Linked DNA regions of Homo sapiens: all the other regions are linked to region 5. The links are contacts of gene promoters, found by promoter capture Hi-C in blood cells and fetal thymus (Javierre and others, 2016). All regions are on one chromosome and are shown on one strand. Each heading gives the region's core, a stretch centred on a gene start or on the middle of the fragment in contact. The rest is flanking DNA. Distances are from core to core; before and after follow the strand shown.

Region 1 (3,090 bases), core at 360-2,859, 340 kb after region 5:
TATAACTTGCTATACAGAATCAGATTTTGTCCTTCACTGTGCTCTCATTTTCTGGAACAAACTGACACTAATATAGGAGAAAATCATTCCCCTTTTTCCTTGAAAAACAAAAGCACATACCCACTTGTATTTCCTCTCTATGGCTCCTAGTATAGTCTCAACCAGTCACATTAATTCAACTTTTAACTAAAACTATAATTTCTATTTCACAGCACAAACTAGAAACTAGAAAGTTGACAAATACATCATAATTAGGAATTTTACCAGTACAATAAAACTAATGAATACTGATAACAAAAATTTCTCCTGCTACACATATCACTTTACGCCCTCACAAAGTAGCAAAAATAAAATATTCATTTCTGTATTATTCTGAATATCCTGTTTAGTCTGTTTGTGTTGCTATAACAGAATACCTGAGGCTGGGTAATTTATAAAGAAAAGAGGTATTTTGGCTCATGGTTCTGCAGGCTGTACAGGAAGTGTGGTGCCAGCATCTGCTTCTGGTGAAAGCCTCAGGAAGTTTCCAATCATGGCGGAAGGCGAAGGGGAACCAGCATGTCACATGGTGAGACAGGGAGCAAGAGAGAGGGGGAGCAAACAAGAAAGGAAGAAGACAGGGAGTGGGAGGTGCCAGGCTCTTCTAAACAACCAGTTCTCACATAAAGTCATAGAACAAGAACTCATTACCAGGAGGATGGCACCAAGCCATTCATAAAGGATCCACCCTCATGATTCTAACACCTCCCACCAGGCCCCACCTCCAACAGTGGGGATCACATTTCAACATGAGATTTGAAGGAGACAAAACATCCAAACCATATCATAGCCCAAAGATATACCCACTATATAGTGTATCACAGTTAGATGCGAAATTATATGAACTTGAAATTATGTATAGTAATCAACATTTCAGTACCAATACTATATATGAATTATCTTGGTATCTACTGATTATACTTTAATTAACATAATTTATAAAATTCCAAAGTTTTAAGTTACCTAAGAATTTTGAAAATTATGTTCAAATTGACACACTACAGAACATAACTACTGCTGTAAAAATGTCAGAATTATGAAGACAAATTTACAGTTTTATCATCTTGAGCGTTATATAACTATAATGTTTATTTGATCTGTAAGACAATGTAAGAAGTTTAGAATGTTCATATATTAACTAATCTCCTTATGAGAAACATACTTAAATCATGTTTACAAAGGAAACTAAAAAGATGGCTATGCTATACTGAACGCTAGTAAATCACAGAAAATTATAGAAGCAGTCTAATTCATCCAAACATTCCCTTAATTTTGTGAGCCTGGATTCTTAAAATATTTCTGTGATACAAGTTTCTGTAAGAAGAATTGCTTTCACACATTTAAAGTATTAAAGATTCGGGGTTTTTGTGAATTCTTGGAATACTTGATTTATATAAGGACTTGTTTATCTTGAAAAAGCAATCAGAACAGATCTCCTTTAATTTAATGGACATTAGACCTAATTTTTAAATACTCTCCAGAAGTAAGAAAATGCTGCCCATTCATACACAAGAGGTAAAGGCTTTTTGGAATTACAAACAAATAATTTTTAGCCCAAGTATACAACTTCAGCTGCAGGTCCAAAGTAAGACCAGAAACATAAAAACTCACTAGTCTAGATCGCAAGAGCTGTTGCCCTTCCATAATGGTCACAGAGTATTTTTCAATCGATTAGAGTTCACAAATAGGCAAACAGAAAAAGATTAACAAATCAAATCCTGTCATCTCTCACCCTTCAGAGACTAGATCTCCATCATCCATTGGACAGAGATCACCAGTGGTCAGACCATAAAACACAATTCCCAATCATTGCTGCCACCAATGGGGAATGACTACTGCCCATTCAGGAACCAGAAAAAGCAAAAGCACAAAATCAATATAAAGAGAGAGGAAAAAAATAATAGAGGAACAGAGCATTGGCAAACTTTAGTTGCTGCTGAGGATCTACTTTAAGGGGCAAGAAAAGACGAACTTGAGCATACACAGCCCACGAGCTACACTTATCCAGAAATACAGCACCCTCTTGAGTGCGCTTGGGTGTTCTAGTGATTTCTCTCCAAAACTTAAAAAAGTCATTTTCAAAAAGACAACACCATGATTCTCATTCAATATAAAATGAATGTTTGCCAATAATTTTACCTCATTAAAAAATGAGGAAACCAGTAAAATGTTAACAAAAGGTTCAAAGACGATTAAAGAAGGTAAGTATATACAGGTAATTTGATAAAGGAATGATAAGATAAAATCACTAGGTTAAATACAAAACTTTTTAGTGTCTTAGGGCCATGAGCTGTATCCTTTTGTTCCACTAAACAGAAATTATTTTCATCTCTAGAGCACAAAAATCTAGACATTAACCTCTACCACTGCAGGCTTCTGCCACCACACACTTTAAACAATTCAGTCAATAAAAAGTCAAGCCCAGACCTGCATGGGAAATAGCACTGAACAATCTCTTTTATCAATTTCAAACTTTTGGATAATTTTTGTCCTGACAGAGCTCAAGAGTTTTTACCTGCCTCAGTATGTCTCTATTAATGCACCCTACTGGAATCTGTGAGCCCTTTCTGTGTGTAGATTTAGATCTTCAGAGCTTCCTTCAAATCACAGACATTTCTTGCTATTGTTTAATTACTGACATTCCTTCTCCCGTTCCTCTCTATTTTTGGAATTCCTACAATGAGTATAGTGAGTCTTATGGAGCTAATCTTATCTTCTCCATAATGACTTCCATCTTTTGATATGTTTTCACAAATTTCTATTTCAAAAGTGACCTTCCTTTCCAAATCAGCCAGCGAAATCACTAGGATAATCTTTGATTACAGAAACTCTTATTTGGTTATATTTAAATCTCCTTAAATGCTCTGATTATGTCTTTTGCTTCAGTTGTATTCCATCTCCTCCTGCAACCCTATTTTACCAAGTATGTGTCCTATTTGTACTGACTACTCACCTTTCTTCTACTGAGTCTTTTAGGTAAGTTGTCTTTTTATTATTGTTATTGTTGTTGACTCATTGAAGATAACATCTGACAGTCTCTCTGCCCCTTAT
Region 2 (3,177 bases), core at 288-2,787, 320 kb after region 5:
CAGAATGATGCCTACACACTGACAGGCTAGAGGGATCCAGCATTATCATGGAAAGGAGTAAGATAATACATACAGTTTGATCAGTTTTTATCCAAGAAAAGTCCTGCTCATTATGACTTTGAAATTTGAATATGCAGATTGAGAGGTTGATCTCACAGAGGTTATTTAAAAATAAACAAATTCTAAAAATGCAGACCACACACACTATAGGAATAAAAAAGGACAAGATTTTTGGAAGAAAAAAAGGCATATTTATGGCAACAGGTCTCCAACTCCCCTCTTCTGGTGGTGGAGGGGGATTCTAAAGTATGTTTTGCATTGTCTTCCAGAGTTCCCCAGTAGAACTGAGCCCTGGTTGCCCACAATGGTAAACTGATCAGTAATGGGCTCTTTATTTGTTTCTTCCCTTCCCTATCAGATGTCCCTACTCCCTCATCAGTGCTTCCTTGGATTGTCTCCGAAGAAACTGCTTCCACACAAATCCTCATGTCAGTGCCTACTTCTAATGAAACCCAACCTAAGACGGTGTGTATACCCATGAGTCCCTCAGGACTGTAAGAATACCCTATTTCTGTATTTTCCTCAGGGAGGCAATAGTGAATAAGAAGCAGTGTAAAGCTCGATCTGAAAACAGAAAAGAACTCTAGTCCTCCTGAAAAAGTACGCTTATAGGTGGAGGTCAGTCTCATGCATGCTATCTATTAGTTTCCTAGGGTTGTCATGACAAAAAGCCATAAACTTGGGGGCTTAAAAGAACATAAACATATTCTGTCATAGCTCTGGAGCCTAGATGTCCAAATTCCAGGTGTTAGCAGGGTCATGCTCCCCATGAAGGGTCTTGGGAAGGAATCATCCTTGCCTCTTCCTAGCTTCTGAGGGTAGTCTGCGATCCTTGATGTCTGTGGGTTGGCAGCTGCATCACCCCAGTCTCTGCCTCCAACTTCACGTGGCGTTCTTCCAAGTGTGTCTCTCTGTATCTTCACACAGTGTTATAAGGACACCAGTGTTGAATTTAGGGATCCTCCCTCTTCCTGCAATCCAATATGACCCTCATCTTAACTTGATTATATCTGTAAATACTGTTTCCAAATAAGATCACACTCATAGATACCAAGGGTGTGGACTTGAACATATTTAAGGAGGGACACGATTTAACCCACAACATGCTATATCCACCAGCCTAACAGAAGACAAGTCAAGCAGCTTTCTGTCCCTGCTCACTCACACGTAACAAATATGATGATGATGAGGAGGAGGAAAATGATGGTGATGATGAGAATTTTAGAAATCTACTCCAGCCAGGAACAAAACTCTCAGCAGTTAGAATATACAGAAAACCCACGGCCAATGCTTCCTAACTCCTACTTACATCTGCTTTTTATTTATCTTTCTAGGCTAGTGACGGTTTCTAGAACCTTTGCTCTGAGCATTCAGTAACTGCTTTGGATTTTAATGCCCTGTCTCCTGAGAATAGTAAGTGTATTTCTGACAACACAATGCCTTCCCGAGATGAAGTGAGAGCCAAAAGTGCCAGCTCATCAACCCCTCAGTCCCTGACCTTAGCTGAATTTGGTCGCTCCGACGAACAGAGCTAGCCAGGAAGAAAACAGCCACATGACATTTTCTACCATTGGGTGCTTGCATCTGAGTGTGTCCCTTGTTAAAGGCAATCCTCTCTCATCTCTAGAAGCATACCTGGTTTTCAAGTTAAATACTCCAGGTCCTTGAGTAATTCACAAACAGGTCATGGTATAATATTTGAGCCATATAAATGTGTATTTAGCTGCTTTGATGCAATTTCTCTTTGGCTTACTAATGAGAAGGCATTGAAAAGAAAAAGGGAGGGTTATTGAACAACCAGAGCAAAACGTCCATCACTAATTATCTGAAAGCCCAAAGATCCAGCATCCTGATTAGCACAGGCCTGGAAAAAGCACAGAGTAAAACTGGACATTTATTCCTCAATTAGAGCATAGAATGATTACTGCCTTCCAGATGTCCTAGGGAACAACCCTTCAACTTCATCACTCCTTGAATAGAAAAGTAATTTAAAGGACAAAGAAGTGCCCACCTGGGCTCTATGAACACAGCATCAAAATTCTCTGGTAAGGAAGGCGTGCCTGACATTTTTCAGCTTTTATCTCTTCATCAAATTAGCCTCTTGCTGAGGTAAAAACAAGAAGAGCAGCTTACAAAATTATATATGCAGTGGTATCTCAGCTACTTAAAAATGTAAACAGAGGAGAAAAAGATAGAAGAAAACACAACAAATTACTAACTACTAATCTTTGAAAATGGAATTGGGAGTGTTTTATTATTTTCTTTTTAATACTTTTACATTTTCTACAATAAGCATATATTGTTAGTAATTTATCATTCATGGTATTGAATGCTTACAATATACATGCACATATTTCATTTAATTCTGACCAAAAAGGAAAACAAAAGAACCTATGTAGGAAGTATTATCCCCATTACATAACTTGCCTAAGGTCACTTAGCTGATATATGGCAGTCAATATTCACACCTAAGTCTACGTAATTTTGTTGTCTCCCATATATTGTTCTCATGATCAGAAGGAGAAAAGAAGACATACTCAAAATAATATCTAATACAGAAAGGATAGTGGAATCAACTTGTGTAAAAAAAAGAAAAAAAAGTTTCCGAAAAAAATGCCACTGCAGAGGCTAAAAAACTGTAATAATATTTTATCTCAGATGCACCCAATATCGGTTACCAGATAGTCCATGATCTTTCCACATGAAAATGCATATTACTAACCATGGCACCTTATACTGCGCATGAAAACCCAGGGCATATAGGTAGATTCTGCAACTCTTTTGAGGAGGGCCAACACAATGACCCAAGTCTGAGTCAACCTTCACCATTTAGAGAGATTTGTAACCTCAGTCAGTTTGCTTGTTCTTTCTGAGGTTCCATGTTTTCATTTCTTTTTTCCTTTGTCCACTGATTCAACAAATATTTCCTCTGTACCTAATATGCCAGTTATTTTTCTAGGCCCTGGGAGTAAGTGTGGTGAATAAAAGAGGCACGGTCTCAGTCCTCACAGAGCTCTGCCCCTCACCTTGGAAGAAAGATAACATGGCTTGCTTCAGTCAGGGTTGCTGCAAGGCCTGAATCAGAGAATGTAAAGTATCTGCCCCAGCACTTAACAC
Region 3 (3,410 bases), core at 657-3,156, 460 kb before region 5:
ACACCGATTCATGACAGGCTTCAGGTTGCTTAGTCAATCAGTTACGCGGCCAAAACTGCTGCGTCTGAGTCTCTTCCTCTCTGCTGGGCAGTTCCTTTTGGTTGTTTTTATTAGGTCTCAGTGTTACCTCTCGTGTGTTTTTCTTCTGTTATGTGCTCCAACAGGACAGAATTATTAGATCTGTACTGTCTTTGTAACCTAATTATTTTCCTGTCTCACATACTGCATTGATATATCCAGGTTTCCAAACATATGTATAGTTACAATTACACTGTGAATTTAAACTACTTAAGTCATATTATTTTAATCTACCAAAGATTTGAAATATTAATAACAACAGCACATGAAGATTATATTTTGGATTCTAATTTAAGAGAGTATACCTGTGATGGTTAATACTGAGTGTCAACTTGATTGAATTGAAGGATTCAATCATGGATTAAATTATTGATCCTGGGTGTGTCTGTGAGGGTGTTGCCAAAGGAGATTAACATTTGAGTCAGTGGGCCGAGAAAGGCAGACCCACCCTTAATCTGGGTGGGCACAATCTAATTAGCTGCCAGCACAGCTAGAATATAAGCAGGCAGAAAAATCTGAAAAGAGAGACTGGCCTAGCCTCCCAGCCTACATCTTTCTCCCAGGCTGGGTGCTTCCTGTCCTCAAACATCGAACTCCAAGTTCTTCAGTTTGGGAACTCAGACTGGCTCTTTTTGCTCCTCAGCCCACAGACGGCCTATTGTGAGACCTTGTGATCATGTGAATTAATACTTAATAAACTCCCCTTTATATATATGTCTATTCCATTAATTTTGTCCCTGTAGAGAACCCTAATATAGTACCCACTTAGACTATTAAATAATTAGTCATCTTAAGGAAAAGAAAATAGCAACACATACTTAAATTGCATTGTACTGTTCTAAGCACTTCACATATATTTATTGATTTTTATCACCATAACAGACCTTATGAAAGAGATACTATGCAATAATATAATTTATATATAATCTGATCTTATTCTAAAAAAAGAGAAGCAAATACCTAGACATGTATTTGGAAATAGTACCTTTAGTTTGGGCTGCTGTGTTTCTTATCTGGAGTCTTGACTTAAGGCCCCTGGATTTGCAACTGTCAGCTAACAGCTGACAACTCTCACCTGGTATGTCAGTCAGATCCAGAAAATAACAATAATTTGCAAATAGCTCTTTAAAAACTCAGGCTTTTAGGACACAAAATTCCTCACCTGGAATGGCATTTGTCTGATGAGTAAGGAGAGATGACTTGAGAAGCTTAATGAGAAAAAATGTGTTGAGTCCAAAAGTAAATATAATAAGTTCTCAAAGAAAAATCAACCTTGTAGTAAATGGTCTTAGAAATGTCTAATGTGCATCACAGGATAACCTGTTTAAAAAATGTGACATATGCAATGGATTCCCAAAAGGTTTGTATGCACATATGGAGAGAGAATGGCCATATGGGATGAAGAGGGAGGGGATGTAGGTAGTGAAGGCTCGGACTCAGGAGGCTAACAGTGTCAGAGAACTACTTGTATAGCACTTGTAGGCTAATTGTTGGGTGGGAGAGGCAGAGAATGCAAGGAACTCAACACAGTATTTGGTATAGTAACAGGCCCTGTATGCTCGAGCTACAGTGTTGATCATTACATTCAATTAGTCAGAATCTTTTTAAGTAAGGTATCTACTTTACCATTTTTTAAAGATGTGAAGAAATCAGAGCATGAACTGAGACAGAAACACAATATTTATTCATCAATTCATTTGTTCAACCTACTTTTTGCCACACATTTTGTTTGGCATTGAAGATACAACAATAAACCCTTATGAGGCTTATATATGGAGTTCATGGAGTTGCCATGAACTGAGATTAAAAAACTGTAGGAGGAGGTTTGGTTTGGAGTGAGGAGAAGAGTAGACCTCAGTTTTGAAGATGCTTAGTTTGAGGTTTTTTGTTTTTTTTTTTTGAGTTGGAGTCTCACTCTGCTGCCCAGGCTGGAATGCAGTGGCACGATCTCGGCTCACTGCAACCTCCGCCTCCTGGGTTCAAGTGATTCTCCTGCCTCAGCCTCCAAAATAGCTGGGACTATAGGCATACGCCACCATGCCCAGATAACTTTTGTATTTTTTAGTTAGAGACAAGGTTTTACCATATTGGCCAGGCTGGTCTTGAACTCCTGACCTCAGGTGATCCACCTGCCTCAATCTGCCAAAGTGTTAGGATTACAGGCATGAGCCACAGTACCCGGCCAGTTTGAGGTTTTAGATATCTAAGTGAAGATGCTGAGCAGAGAGTTAGGTAATGAAAAAAAGAGTTTAGTGAGAAGCCTAGGCAGGAGATACACATTTGGGAGTTTTGGTAATCACTAGTGTCATTCACCAAATATTTCCATTTCACCTTCTAATATGGTTTTATGTTAGAATTGTATTTTTCTACTCATCATGGCCCTGTGACTTGCTCTGTCCAACTAAAATCAAGTGGAAATAATACATGTTACTTCTGGATGGAAGCTTTAGTAATTAATGCACAATGTCACATTCTTATCTCTGTCACAGCAGCTGGCAGTACTCTTTATGGTAGCTGCTCTACGAGCTGTGTCCCAGAGAAAGGACAACATGGGATACAATACCTAGGCAAACCACAACTGAAAGGCAACATGAGTGAGAAACCTTTCTTAAGCTACTGGGACTGGGGTGTGGTTGTTTTTAACCCAGGAAGACTTAGCCTGTTCTAACTTGAATGGGAATCATGATAGATTGAGAGATGAAGCTAGAGATATAGACAGATAATAAGAAAGAGAAGTTCCAGGGCAAGGGAGGCTGGGAGTATTCCAACATTGAAAGGTTGGGGAGTAAAGGAACCAGCCAAGACTGAGAGGAAGCATTTGAGACCATGTGGTGTCCCGGAAGTCAAGTGAAGAAAGTGCTTCAAGAAGGAAATAATGTTTAACCAGGTCAAAGGCTGCTAAGTCAAGTAAGATGAAGAATCTGGATTTCCACTTTGGAGATCATTGGAGAGCTTGGCAGGAGCAGTTTTGATGGAGCAATCAGGCAAAAGCATACTCCGAGTGGGTTTAAGTGAGAACAGGAAGAGAGAAACTGTACAGAGCAAGTCTATTTGTTTCAAAGTGTGGAAATGGGGTCATACCAGGACAGGAAAGTGGGATTGTGAGTGCCTTAAAAAAATGATAGAAATACTGCATGTTGAGTACAGATGGGAAAATAAAACATGTAGGAGGAAGGGGCAATTGTGGGAGTTGTATCCTTGAGCAGAAGAGATGGAATTAGATTTACGTGTTCAAATGGAGGGGTCAGCTTTGTTAGGAAATGGGTGGTCATGAATTTAAAGTGAGATCAATCAGCACAATTATGTGTTTTTCTTCAGACACATTCAGCTGT
Region 4 (3,437 bases), core at 45-2,544, 340 kb before region 5:
AGTACTTGAAGAGAACAAAATATTTAGTTTTTGAGATGCCACTATTAATTCTTTTCATACAATTTCTAACGTTGTCAAAACATTTTGAGCTTTATTGGTCTCCTGAGGTGGTGGTGTGTCCCTGCATATAGGAGAAAACAGTGATTCTGGAAGTACAGATTATTCATAAATCAAGAGGTGCTCACTTTGGACAAGTCTGCCAACAGGTACCAGGGTCTGTATGCCTGGCTTAAATTTGATGGGCTAAAATGTCTTCTGTTCATGTTATTGGCTAAAACGACTGATGTTTCAATAACCACTCCATCATGTGAGCCTCAAATGACAGAGCCATATTTTCCTGGAAAGACTATGCAACAATCTTTAAATAATTATATATACATATATATATAATTATAGGTGAAGACTATAAGGGCTAACAATTTACTCAGATTGACTAGACATTTCTAGGGGGACAGTCAAAATTAGAAGGCCAATCTCTAATATTTCCCTAATGGAAAATATTAGAAAATGATTATATAGAGACAGTTTTTACTGTGATGTGTCATTTATTCTCCTGAGCATTTTTCTTTATGTTTTTGAAACAGAATGTTAAATGAGACTCTGTCTTGATTTTGGCTAAGGCCTCAAAGGCTGAGAACAAAACAGTATTTCCCAGGCATCTCCCTATTCCAAAGTGAGGTGCTAACATGCCAAGGATGTGGTCATCTGGCATGTGAAAGCACTGGGATAGGAGAAGACCAGTTGCTGGGGTTCTGAGCCATCCCAGAACTCCAGCAACTGGTCTTCTATCGCAGTGTTTACATGGAGGAGGACAGCCCAATGTTTCCTGTTTACCTCAAGCCTGTGGGAGGCAGAACTTGACATAAAAAATTCAGGGACCTAGTGGATTGATATCTTCCTCAGACTTCAGGGCTCTAAGGGTGAAAAGCCATTGGGCCATTGCGGGGAAAAACTGCACCAGTGTAGTTTAGCAGCAATGGTTGGGTAATGATGTTTCCTCTGAGGGCCAAGCAGAAGAATGAAACATCCTTAGAATAATCCTTCAAAGGAGCTTCAAGTGGTAGGCAGTGGTGGTGGGCTATTTATTGGATTCCAACAAGATAGTCTGTATGGCATGGGCCCCCAGAGTGTTAGGGCTGAAATTGGAGCTTAAAAGAGGCCAGCGAGATATGACCTCTGTTCTGGGACATGCAATGGGAGGTTTCCAGTGGAGGATATTGAATCTCTGAGAAACCTACAGAGGTGTCTTGTAATTATAAACATCCACCAAGCCCAGAGCACAGCTTAAGGCCTATTCCCTGAAGGGGTCAGAAAACATAAAAGTGGAAAGGGAGGAGCAGAGGAGCAAGGCAGGGAATTGAAGCAGGTGCTGGTGACCACATTTGCCTTTCTTACTCCAGGCTTCCTGGGCTAGAAGGGGTTTGACCTGGGAGAAGTCTTAACTTTGAAAGATATGTAGGGTTTGATGATTACACTGCACCACACATTTTAATTATTGAAAGAACAACTTCTTTCAGCTAAAAGTGACCTGAGAAATTTTTATTATTTGAGAGTAGCCATATAAACGTTATGGGATTTTCTTGAGATTCTAACCTTGGACAGAGGCAGAACTATCCAAAAAAATGAGTTTAATAGAATAGGTGTGTGTGTGTGTGTGTGTCTGTATGTCTGTGTGTCTGTGTGTGTGTGTGTGTGTGTGTGTACATTGAGGGAAGGGGCAACGGGTAGTAGTAGTAGAACATTTTTCATTTGTATCCTGTAAGATGTTGCTTAATCAAATAAATAGCTATATATTTGTAGTGCCTGGAGAAAATTTCATCTAATGCCTATCAGGCAATCTGATACTTATAGATAAATAGCTAATCTTTCACTAGAAAATGAATATCTTTCTAGTACCTGTTTAGTGTCTTGTTCTCTAACCCGTAATACAATGTCTGCCATATGCCCAATAAATATTTATTGGATGAGCAGCTACTTGGAGGTAGTGGAGTTAGTATGGCTTAAGAGCTTAGGTTCTGCATCTAGATAAACCTGGGTTCAGCCAGACGCGCTGGCTCACGCCTGTAATCCCAGCACTTTGGGAGGCTGAGCCGGGTGGATCACCTGAGGTCAGGAGTTTGAGACCAGCCTGGCCAATATGGTGAAACCCCGTCTCTACTAAAAATACAAAAAAATTAGCTGGGTGTGGTGGTGCACACCTGTAGTCCCAGCTACTTGGGAGGCTGAGGCAGGGGAGAGTTGCTTGAACATGGGAGGTGGAAGTTGCGGTGAGCTGAGATCACGTCACTGCCCTCCAGCCTGGGTGACAGAGCGAGACTCTGTCTCAAAAAAGAAAAAAAATAAATAAAATAAAAAATAAAATAAATTTAAAAAATAAAAAATAAAAATAGATAAACCTGAGTTCAAATCCCAGCTCCACCATTTGCTTGCTCTGTGATTTTAGACGATTTTTAAGTTTCTTTGTGCTTCAGAGTCTTGTCTTTTACATAGATATAATAGTAGTTTATAGAGCTTTTGCAGAAGTACGTAAGATAACATAACTGGATATAAGCACATGGCCTGACTCATGTAGTGATCAGTTTATAGCCATCATAACTTATGTAAGTAAACTGTTGATACATTTTATCCCTTTTATAAAGAGCTTACACTCCATTCAAATATTGTTAGCTTAAGCTGAGTTTTACTCAAAAGAAACATGCTACTTTTAGGAGCCAATTAAAGTAGTTCCTTCCCTTCCTCCTTCCCTTTCTTCCTTCCCTTCCTCCTTCCCTTTCTTCCTTCCCTTCCTCCTTCCCTTTCTTCCTTCCCTTCCTCCTTCCCTTTCTTCCTTCCCTTCCTCCTTCCCTTTCTTCCTTCCCTTCCTCCTTCCCTTTCTTCCTTCCCTTCCCTTCTGCATTAACCATATTACCTTGAGCAAGGTATGGTGAGTTCAGAACAGATTAGGAGAAACCGGAAAGAGTTTTACAGTTTTGTGCCTCACAGTTTCCTGGGGAGAACACAGGAACACTCAGCAGAAGCACTGCAGTCAGTCATGAGGCAGAGCGAGAGAGGGCAACTGAGGGCAAGTGCCTTTATTGTGTTTTCTGCAGGCAGGGCAAGCAGGGTTAGGGTTAGCAGGGTTAGGATTGGCTAGCATCAATAATTTCAGTGAGCTGTGGGGCCTTAGGGGCTGACCCTGGGGAAATTAGGCTTTGTATATAATGGCCTGGCTCCTGGGGAAGTGGTTGGAGGTGCGGACTTCATCATCTATTCAAGAGGGGTAACTGACTGTCCTCTAGCCAGGGCCTCAAAACTGAGTCAAGACACCAATTTAAAAACTAAGAGAGGGAAAGATGGCTGACTAGTCCCAGCCAGGTGGAACAGCTCTCACCAAGGGACTGAGATGACGGGCATGCTTTTAACAAATCTTCATAGGGAAGGCACCAAGAATGGATGGA
Region 5 (3,280 bases), core at 437-2,936:
GGACTAAGGAATGTTCTTTAAATTGGGAAATAGGGCAGGAGAGAAATCCTAGTGCAAAGCTCCATACTCAGCAAAAGCAAGGTAAGTATGATGATGACTCATAGGCTTACTGTTGTTTGTTAAGATACATGGAATTTCCAGGAGGAAAGAAGAATGAGAGTTATGGTAAAAATAAGATGGAAGCATACAGATGTGATCCTGAAACCTTCCCTCCCACCCCTCATCAACCTGAATGCAGTAAAACAAAGTGAGCTTATATGCATTATCCATGGAATGGCAACTTTCATTCTGATTAAAGATATTTAAAAGCATCAGACATCTCTAAGAGGGCTTAGCTGAAACTCTCTATGTATTTCTGATGGCAACGTATTTGGCCATTATGAACCAAGATAGAATGTACGTTTTCTAAACTGATACTGAATTGTCTAAGTTGCTAACAAGAAATCCTTTCATAACAGTACAGTTTTTAACCTTTACTTCTTTATTCATCTTTAATTCCTTGCCACTTCCCACTGAGTTGAAATGTTTATATTAAAACAAAACACCCACTGGAATTCTAAAGAAATTGGCTCACCCATCTTTCAAATTACAAGATATTTTTTGACAGTATACAATATTCATTATAATGGAATAAACATTTTAATTTCTTAAGGAACTCTAATTTTCCTTAAAGGAGATGTTTACAACTTACTATTATAAATGCTGCCACTCAATCATAGGAGAAAATGATACTAAAATAGTTCAAGGCTAAAATCACACATAGGGCAGTTGTTCTCGAATATTTATAAGGCCACGAACTCATTTATGTATAACCTATAAACTTGAAGAATTTTTGAACCAATACAGTGGCAAGGAAAGCTAACAACCTAACTGTTAAGATCTATGGTCATTATTTTTCATTTAGTCCTAGAAATACATTTCCTTTCTGTAATGAATCAATATGGTCTAACTCAAAGAGAAACACGTGGAAGTGAAAAATAAATTTCTAAAGCAAGTGCTGATGGAAGAAGCAGAATTTCCCATTTAAAATACCCAAACAACTCCAAATTCTTTAGTAGTTAGGACTCCTGAAATCTCTTGACATAATAGAGAAGCAAAGACCCATAGAGAGATATGCGGTTAAATAGTGCTGCCTCTGGTGGCAAAAGCAGTTGCTAAGTTGTTTCACAACATATTTTTCCCCCACAGGCACAGGCCCCCCAAACACTGGAGCCGTCTACGAATTATTCTGACGCTAACTCCACAGCTCCGGACAGAAACACAATAGACGGGCGTGGTCTTATAATCATAAGCCAGTTCCTTTCTCAAGTCCTTCCTGCCTATGTTCGCTTACGTGTTATGGGTTCTGCGGTCCTGATGAAACTCCCTGAACGGAGAAAAACCACACACTTCATCCCAGTGGCGAATTTCTCCTCTTGCTCTAAGCAGGGTGTTTGACCTTCTAGTCGACTGCGTCCCCTGTACCCGGCGCCAGCTGTGTTCCTGACCCCAGAATAACTCAGGGCTGCACCGGGCCTGGCAGCGCTCCGCACACATTTCCTGTCGCGGCCTAAGGGAAACTGTTGGCCGCTGGGCCCGCGGGGGGATTCTTGGCAGTTGGGGGGTCCGTCGGGAGCGAGGGCGGAGGGGAAGGGAGGGGGAACCGGGTTGGGGAAGCCAGCTGTAGAGGGCGGTGACCGCGCTCCAGACACAGCTCTGCGTCCTCGAGCGGGACAGATCCAAGTTGGGAGCAGCTCTGCGTGCGGGGCCTCAGAGAATGAGGCCGGCGTTCGCCCTGTGCCTCCTCTGGCAGGCGCTCTGGCCCGGGCCGGGCGGCGGCGAACACCCCACTGCCGACCGTGCTGGCTGCTCGGCCTCGGGGGCCTGCTACAGCCTGCACCACGCTACCATGAAGCGGCAGGCGGCCGAGGAGGCCTGCATCCTGCGAGGTGGGGCGCTCAGCACCGTGCGTGCGGGCGCCGAGCTGCGCGCTGTGCTCGCGCTCCTGCGGGCAGGCCCAGGGCCCGGAGGGGGCTCCAAAGACCTGCTGTTCTGGGTCGCACTGGAGCGCAGGCGTTCCCACTGCACCCTGGAGAACGAGCCTTTGCGGGGTTTCTCCTGGCTGTCCTCCGACCCCGGCGGTCTCGAAAGCGACACGCTGCAGTGGGTGGAGGAGCCCCAACGCTCCTGCACCGCGCGGAGATGCGCGGTACTCCAGGCCACCGGTGGGGTCGAGCCCGCAGGCTGGAAGGAGATGCGATGCCACCTGCGCGCCAACGGCTACCTGTGCAAGTACCAGTTTGAGGTCTTGTGTCCTGCGCCGCGCCCCGGGGCCGCCTCTAACTTGAGCTATCGCGCGCCCTTCCAGCTGCACAGCGCCGCTCTGGACTTCAGTCCACCTGGGACCGAGGTGAGTGCGCTCTGCCGGGGACAGCTCCCGATCTCAGTTACTTGCATCGCGGACGAAATCGGCGCTCGCTGGGACAAACTCTCGGGCGATGTGTTGTGTCCCTGCCCCGGGAGGTACCTCCGTGCTGGCAAATGCGCAGAGCTCCCTAACTGCCTAGACGACTTGGGAGGCTTTGCCTGCGAATGTGCTACGGGCTTCGAGCTGGGGAAGGACGGCCGCTCTTGTGTGACCAGTGGGGAAGGACAGCCGACCCTTGGGGGGACCGGGGTGCCCACCAGGCGCCCGCCGGCCACTGCAACCAGCCCCGTGCCGCAGAGAACATGGCCAATCAGGGTCGACGAGAAGCTGGGAGAGACACCACTTGTCCCTGAACAAGACAATTCAGTAACATCTATTCCTGAGATTCCTCGATGGGGATCACAGAGCACGATGTCTACCCTTCAAATGTCCCTTCAAGCCGAGTCAAAGGCCACTATCACCCCATCAGGGAGCGTGATTTCCAAGTTTAATTCTACGACTTCCTCTGCCACTCCTCAGGCTTTCGACTCCTCCTCTGCCGTGGTCTTCATATTTGTGAGCACAGCAGTAGTAGTGTTGGTGATCTTGACCATGACAGTACTGGGGCTTGTCAAGCTCTGCTTTCACGAAAGCCCCTCTTCCCAGCCAAGGAAGGAGTCTATGGGCCCGCCGGGCCTGGAGAGTGATCCTGAGCCCGCTGCTTTGGGCTCCAGTTCTGCACATTGCACAAACAATGGGGTGAAAGTCGGGGACTGTGATCTGCGGGACAGAGCAGAGGGTGCCTTGCTGGCGGAGTCCCCTCTTGGCTCTAGTGATGCATAGGGAAACAGGGGACATGGGCACTCCTGTGAACAGTTTTTCACTTTTGATGAA
Region 6 (3,260 bases), core at 684-3,183, 350 kb before region 5:
ATTATTGCCCAGACCAACATCATGGAGCTTTTTCCCTATGTGTTTTTCTTAATAGTTTCACAGTTTCAAGTCTTACATTTAAGTCTTTAATCTAACATTTTGAGTTTATTTTTGTATATGATTTGAGAGAAGAGCCCAATATTATTCTTCTCTATGTGACTAGCCAGTTTTCACAATACTGTTTATTTAAAAGACAATTTTTTCCCTGTTTTGCATTTTTGGCATCTTTGTTGAAAATCAATTGACTGTAAATATGTAGGTTTACTTTGGAGCTCTTTATCCTATTCCTCTATGTGTCGATGTGTCTGTTTTTATGCCAGTACCATGCTGTTTTGATTCCTATAGCTTTGTAATATATTTTGAAATCAGGGACTGTGATTTCTGTGGAAAATGCCATTGAAATTTTGTTGGAGATTGCATTGGATCTGTAACATGGCTTTGGGTAATTCTTTTTTTTTTTTTAAGACAAAGTCTTGCTCTTTTCCCAGGCTAGAGTGCACTGGCATGATCTCAGCTCACTGCAACCTCCACCTTCCAGGTTCAAGCAATTCTCCTGCCTCAGCCTCCCAAGTAGCTGGGATTATAGATGCCTGCCACTGTGCCCAACTAATTTTTGTATATTTAGTAGAGATGGGGTTTCACCATGTTGGTCAGGCTGGTCTCAAACTCCTGACCTTGTTATCCACCTGCCTCGGCCTCCCAAAGTGCTGGGATTACAGGCATGAGCCACCATGCCCCTGCCTGGCTTTGGGTAATTCTATAGTTTGAATGTTTGTTCCCTCCAAAACTCACATTGAAATTTAATTGCCATTGTAATAATATTAGGAAGTGGGATGTTTAAGAATTGATTAGGCCATGAATGCTCTCCCTTCATGAATGAATAAATACTGTTATTTCGGGATTGGGTTGTTAAAAAGGATGAGTTCAGTTCCTTCTCTCTCTCTGTCACCCTCTCTTTGCCCTTATGCTATGTTATGACACCTCAAGAAGGCCCTTGCTAGATGCTGATACTGTAGTCTTACACTTCCCAGGCTCCAGAACTGTGACAAATAAGTTTCTGTTTCTCATAAATTATCCAGTCTGTGATATTCTGTTATAGTAGCAGAATGCAAAGATATAAAATTGGTATCAAGAAGAGGGGCTGTTTCTATAACAAATACCTGAAAATGTAGAGGCAGCTTTGAAATTGAGTAAGGGGTAGAAGCTGAAAAAATTTAGAAGAGGAGGTTAGGAAAAAACCTAGGTTGCTGTAAATGAGGTATTAAGAGTAATTCTGGTGAGGGCTCTGGCAAGAAGAGCTGTAGCTAAAGCCTGAAACCTCTTAGAGGTTACTTAAGTGGTTGCCATCCTAATGTTGGTAGAAATGTGGGCAGTTAAGGTAATTCTGATGAGATCTCAGAAATAAAAATCAAGGTACTGGGGTACTGGCTCTGGAGGGATGGTCATCATCTTTGTTATAAAGTGGCAAAGAACTTGGCTACATTGTGTCTGTGCCCAGGCAAAGCAATGAACTAGGATATCTGGCTGGAGGAATATCTATGCAGAAAAGCATTGAAGGATCTATGTGGCGTCTTTTAACCGCATATAGTAAAATTCAAGGAAAGAGAAATGATTTAAAGGTGGAATTAATAATTAAAATGGAAGCAGAATGAAAAGATGTGGAAAATTGTCAGCCTGGCAATGTAAAAAATTTTAAAAGCATGTTCGGGAGAGAATCCTAACGATGTTGCCAAGTGACTGCTGAAGGGATTGATATGGCTAGAAAAATGTCAGGTGCTATTCACTAAGACAATAGAATGACTCCAGTGGTATTTCAGAAATCTTTGGACCAAGCCAGGGTCTTGAGGGCAAGGTTTCTGGAGAGGGGCCCAGGGCACCCATGGGGCTTCAGCTTTTGCTGCCCTGTCCCTCCTCAAGTATCTGCTCCTCACATTCCAGAACAACACTTCTCCACTGCCCCAGCTATGGCTCAAGAAGGCCCAAGTGCTGCTCTGACCACCACTGGGGATGGAACAGCTGTGAATGTAGGCAGAATTCACATGGTGATAACCCTGGAGAGGTGCAGAGTACATGAGTTGTGGGACTGTGGAGGTCTCAACCTAGGTTTCAAAGGATGTATTGAACAGTCTTTGGACTCAGATGAAAACATGCCACAGGGAAATAGCTGCCAAAGAGAATCTCCACTAGAACTATGCTTGCTGGAGCCCTGGGGGTGGCGGCAGCCCACTCCAGAACAGTAGCACTGCCAGTGTGCAATGCCAGCCTGGGAGAGCTGCAGGTATGAGACTCTAACCTGTGGGAGCTACTGTGTGGGCTGAACCCAACAAAGCCATAGGGCAGGGCTGTCCAAGGCCATGGGGACCCAATTCCCATTCCAGTGTGCATATAAGGTGGGACATAGAGGCAAGGAAGATTATTCTGGAGCCTTAGGATTTGATGTTGTTCACCCTATTGGGTTTTGGACTTACTTGGGACCAGCTATCCCTTTTTTCTTGCCTTTTTCTCCCTTCTGGAAGGAGAATGTCTATCTTGTGTCTATCTGACCACTGTGTTTTAGAGGTAGACAACTTGTTTGATTACATAGGCTCATGGCTGAAGAGCAAGTTGCCTTAGGATGAATTGTGCCTTGAATCTCACACATATGATGTTGAAGATGAGACTTTGGACTTTTGAGTTTGTGCTAGAACACATTAAGACTTTTAGGGCTATTGAGGTAGAATCAATGTATTTTGTATGTAGGAAAGACATTAGTTTTGGGGAGTTGGGTGGAATGCTATGAATATTTGCCTTAAAGTGGGTAATTAGGCTTTAAGAGGTAATTAGGCCACGAGGTCTACACCTTCATGAGTGGATTGATGGTTTTTTTTTGTTTTTATGGGAGTGGGTTTGTCATAAAAGGGTGAGTTTGGCTCCCTTCACTCTCTCTCTCCCCTCTCTTTCTCTCTCTCCCTGTCTCTCCCTCTCTTTGCTCTTATTGCCATTTTATGACACACCAAGAAGGCCCTTGTTCCATATGCCAGCACCTTGATCTTGGCCTTCTCAGACCCTAGAACAGAAATAAATTTTTGTTCATTATAAATTGCTCAGTCTGTGGTATTCTGCAATAACAGCACAAAAGGAACTAAGAAATGTAGTATGGACATTTTAACACTATTTATTCTTTCAATCCTTGAACACAGGATATCTTTCCATTTATTTGTGTATTTTTCAATTTCTTTCATCAATGTTTTTTAGTTTTCAGTATACAGATCTTTCACTTT
Region 7 (3,275 bases), core at 610-3,109, 360 kb after region 5:
AATCATAAACATAAATGACATCAAACATTAAACCCATTTGTCAATCCAGTGTTAAATGATGCTAAAGTAGTTTGTGGTAAAACTGGGCCCATGTCTCCTCTCTCTCAGCTTATTGACCTTTCTGCTACATCACAATGTTGTACTTATGTTGAAATGTCACACTTTACATCTTCTGCAAATATTCCCTCTAGGTTTAACTTTTCCAACAAAATATCTCATCATGTTTTTGTCTTTTCATTTTTGTTCTTGAGTAAGTAATACATTTACTTGTTTCAAACTCAAAGCAATGTAAAGGTATACTCGGGGAAGTCATGCTACCACCCAAGTCTCCATCCACTTCATTCCTCCACTTTTATTAGTTTATTGTTTATCCTTCCAAGGTTTCTTTATGCAAATACATGCAAATCAAATATATATTCTCATTTTCTGTGCTGGCCATACACAAAATGTAGCATATTATATATACTTGTTGTACCTTTCTTTTTTTAACTTAACAATATAACCTAGAAATGGATTTTTCTCACTTTTTCGTAGGTTTATAATCATACTACTTTTGACATTTAGGTCATTTGAATAAGATTCAATCTATAAGACCTGCCTTCTTAAACCCTGTTTTGGTCCTCTCTGAGATTCGATGCCACTATTTGGCCAGTTAAAACTAAGCGGCCCTTTTTGCTTAAGTTTAATTATCCATGATCGATCTTCTTCAAAATGTAGGTGAAGTTTCTCTACTATCCAGCACATGATATGGCCAATGTTTTTATTAAGAAAATAAATTTTATTAAAGCCACTACATGAAATATTTCTTTTGATGGACACTAAAATAATAAGCATACATAAAGTATCATAATAGCTTAATAATAATTCAGTATTTTGGAGTTGCCAAGTATAAAACTGGAGGCTTCAGAATTAATTTTAAGGATTGAGCCCTGGTTATTAGCAGACACATGTCTGCTTTAAAACTTTGTCCTTTTCACTATTAGAAAGCCAAAGGCTGCTTTGGCTCTTAGAGCCTTAGTAGAGCCTCAGAATTGACCCATTAGGCTAGTCTCTGATTAAATGGACCCCAAAGTGTTAGCCTGAACTCTTTTGTTAATTGCCTTGAGTGAGTTTGCCTAATCAAAGGAACGTGTGAAACCTCTGATCTGTATGGCAGCCTTAAGATTTCTGATCTTCATTATCTTCTATAAAAGTACATCACTTTTGTATTTTTCAGTTCCTTTTCAATCCCCTGATAAGAATGACCTGTTAATAGATAAACTTAGGCACATTAAAATTTTAACAAGTTTATTTGAGCATTCAGCAATTCATGAACCCAGCAGTCTCAGACTACAAGTGGTTCAGCACTCCACTGAGAGGGTGCAAGGGGAAAACTTGTATAAGGTGTTTGTGGAAGCAAGACAAAGAAAATATCTGATTGATTTAGGCTGAAAATCTCTAGTTACAGGTTGGTTAGCAATTTCTGATTGGTTAAACTAAAGTTTTATTTTAGTATTTAGGTTGAGTTAGGTTTTGGTTTGCTTACAAAGGCACTGGAGCCATCTCAGCCTAGTGGACTTGAAATCAATTATTATAATAGATCCCCTACCTAAGAAAGCCAGCATCCCTAAAGGAAAATAAATACTGAGGACTTTATGCAAAGCAAAGAAATGGATGTAAAGACGTGGATCCTCATTGCCCTCACAATACTTCTTTTCCTTGAAAAAAGGCTGAGAATGGATAAAGATAAATTTAGGCACAGTAAGGACAAAGATAAAGAATAGCAAGAACTTGTAGCTTGGATTATTGATGCCAGAGAAGTGGAGACCCCATGTGGAGAATATTTTTACCCGTTTCCCACCACTGCTTCCCGGACAGAGATAATCTGGGACCCCTGTGAGTATAGCCCAGCTGGCAACCTTGCCATATTTCCATCCTGCAAGGCTTCATTCAGGACAGCGCAGGAACTTATAGGTCAGTCTAAACACTAAACAAGAACATTAGCCTTAACAACACAAATTAGTAATTCATTTCTTCCTTATGTAGCTGAGCACTTAATGATCCAAATCTTGGCGACTGAGTTGGGTAATAGTTCATTGCTGGATGACCCATCTTGACTTTCAAAGTTGCTATTGTTTTTACATTATCCTCAAGTGTTATCATTAAGTTGTGAGCAAGACTAATTTTCTTAATCATTCCCAATCTCCCCAACCATTTTTCACTGAATAATATCATCAACAGGCTGCACAAATTGGACATCTGAGATTTAGTTGAATTAGTAACACCTAAAAGATCATTTATGGCTGCAGCAATAAGCCTCCCATTTCATCTAATTAGAGAGCAAGATTATTTCCCTAAATCCCCACTAATATTTTGAGTTGACAAACAATGAAGCAATCCTGATAAAGTGAATAAATGAGTTTCATAAAGCCACTGCTTTTTTGTTCCTTCTTCAATAAACTGAACACTACACCCCAAGCACAAGTTTAAGAGCCAAGAACAAAATATATAAGCACCGGTCACAACAGTTATTAGGCAATATACTCCACAGAAACTGTCCTGAATCTTCAGAAGCATATTAACTTTGGGGCAACAATCCACCAGGAACATTGCTACGGCTTTTATGCTTAAATTCTTAAACATGCAGGAACAGAGACAAATGTTGCTTGGTCCCTTTATCATGAGAGTACTTAAGTATTTACTAAAGCTAACGTCTCCCAATAAATTACAGTTCATTCCCCAAAGATGGTTATTTCTCAAAAAAGCTATGAAGCGTTTAAAAAGAATGGTCAATAAGATTTCATGGAGAAATGGCAGTCTAGCTAAGCCTGCTCTAGCTTGGTATATGACAACTTTTTTCATCTGAGACAATGTCTATTTTGAACACATGTGTGATATGAAAATAAACGGAAAATTATGAACGCAATGTTAGTGAGTGTGTTATATAGCAAACAAGATGGGAAATAATATAGGAAATGCACAGAACAGGACATAGAGAATGAAAGCAATAATTAAATAAAAAGGAGAGAGGAAAAATGAACAGAAAGAAGACAGAAATGAAGAGAAAGTTTAAAGGGCAAGAGAAACCCTGCCGAGTCTGGCTTGACAAGTGGTATATGATCATTTACATAATCCATGAGAAAATTTTGGTAGGTCAGGACTTAGAGTGGTTGCCTAGGTTTCCTGTGAACATACCTGGCTTTGTCCCAAAGCTATTAATGCACGGTGACCCTGGCATGATCACCTGCCCTGGGACAACTCATTCCATACTTTGGCTTACTTGGCAACACCATTGT

Evidence for each region. The method cuts DNA at HindIII sites, captures the fragments that hold promoters and counts their contacts. A CHiCAGO score of 5 or more calls a contact.
Region 1: a contact is called between a fragment that was not itself captured here and the fragment with the promoter of CLEC14A in region 5, in 4 of 17 cell types (neutrophils, naive CD8 T cells, naive CD4 T cells and 1 more). The highest score is 7.1, in neutrophils.
Region 2: a contact is called between a fragment that was not itself captured here and the fragment with the promoter of CLEC14A in region 5, in 1 of 17 cell types (neutrophils). The highest score is 10.2, in neutrophils.
Region 3: a contact is called between a fragment that was not itself captured here and the fragment with the promoter of CLEC14A in region 5, in 2 of 17 cell types (endothelial precursors and megakaryocytes). The highest score is 7.8, in endothelial precursors.
Region 4: a fragment that was not itself captured here is called in contact with the fragment with the promoter of CLEC14A in region 5 in 1 of 17 cell types (endothelial precursors); the score reaches 7.7 in endothelial precursors.
Region 6: a fragment that was not itself captured here is called in contact with the fragment with the promoter of CLEC14A in region 5 in 1 of 17 cell types (endothelial precursors); the score reaches 5.8 in endothelial precursors.
Region 7: a contact is called between a fragment that was not itself captured here and the fragment with the promoter of CLEC14A in region 5, in 1 of 17 cell types (neutrophils). The highest score is 7.8, in neutrophils.

The regions. Positions count from the first base shown.
Region 1 is chr14:37,911,463-37,914,552 of GRCh38, reverse strand. No RefSeq gene overlaps it. Among named protein-coding and RNA genes, the nearest start is that of LINC00517, 11 kb to the right of the region's middle. The HindIII fragment of the contact is 6,750 bases long and covers 1-3,090 here.
Region 2 is chr14:37,930,534-37,933,710 of GRCh38, reverse strand. No RefSeq gene overlaps it. Among named protein-coding and RNA genes, the nearest start is that of LINC00517, 30 kb to the right of the region's middle. The HindIII fragment of the contact is 3,705 bases long and covers 1-3,177 here.
Region 3 is chr14:38,718,399-38,721,808 of GRCh38, reverse strand. No RefSeq gene overlaps it. Among named protein-coding and RNA genes, the nearest start is that of LINC00639, 200 kb to the left of the region's middle. The HindIII fragment of the contact is 1,236 bases long and covers 1,289-2,524 here.
Region 4 is chr14:38,589,418-38,592,854 of GRCh38, reverse strand. No RefSeq gene overlaps it. Among named protein-coding and RNA genes, the nearest start is that of LINC00639, 330 kb to the left of the region's middle. The HindIII fragment of the contact is 4,708 bases long and covers 1-3,437 here.
Region 5 is chr14:38,254,499-38,257,778 of GRCh38, reverse strand. It overlaps CLEC14A (C-type lectin domain containing 14A), which reads left to right and starts at 1,686. Exons shown (of 1, transcript NM_175060.3): 1 at 1,686-3,280. The coding sequence starts at 1,757. The coding sequence ends at 3,229. LOC112268136 (a long non-coding RNA gene) reads right to left here and starts at 1,734. Exons shown (of 5, transcript NR_169588.1): 1 at 1,334-1,734. RefSeq lists an enhancer at 1,877-2,504. The HindIII fragment of the contact is 4,914 bases long and covers 1-3,280 here.
Region 6 is chr14:38,607,481-38,610,740 of GRCh38, reverse strand. No RefSeq gene overlaps it. Among named protein-coding and RNA genes, the nearest start is that of LINC00639, 310 kb to the left of the region's middle. The HindIII fragment of the contact is 4,009 bases long and covers 1-3,260 here.
Region 7 is chr14:37,895,190-37,898,464 of GRCh38, reverse strand. It overlaps LINC00517 (long intergenic non-protein coding RNA 517), which reads left to right. Exons shown (of 2, transcript NR_135286.1): 2 at 1-2,405. Among named protein-coding and RNA genes, the nearest start is that of LINC00517, 5.3 kb to the left of the region's middle. The HindIII fragment of the contact is 6,010 bases long and covers 1-3,275 here.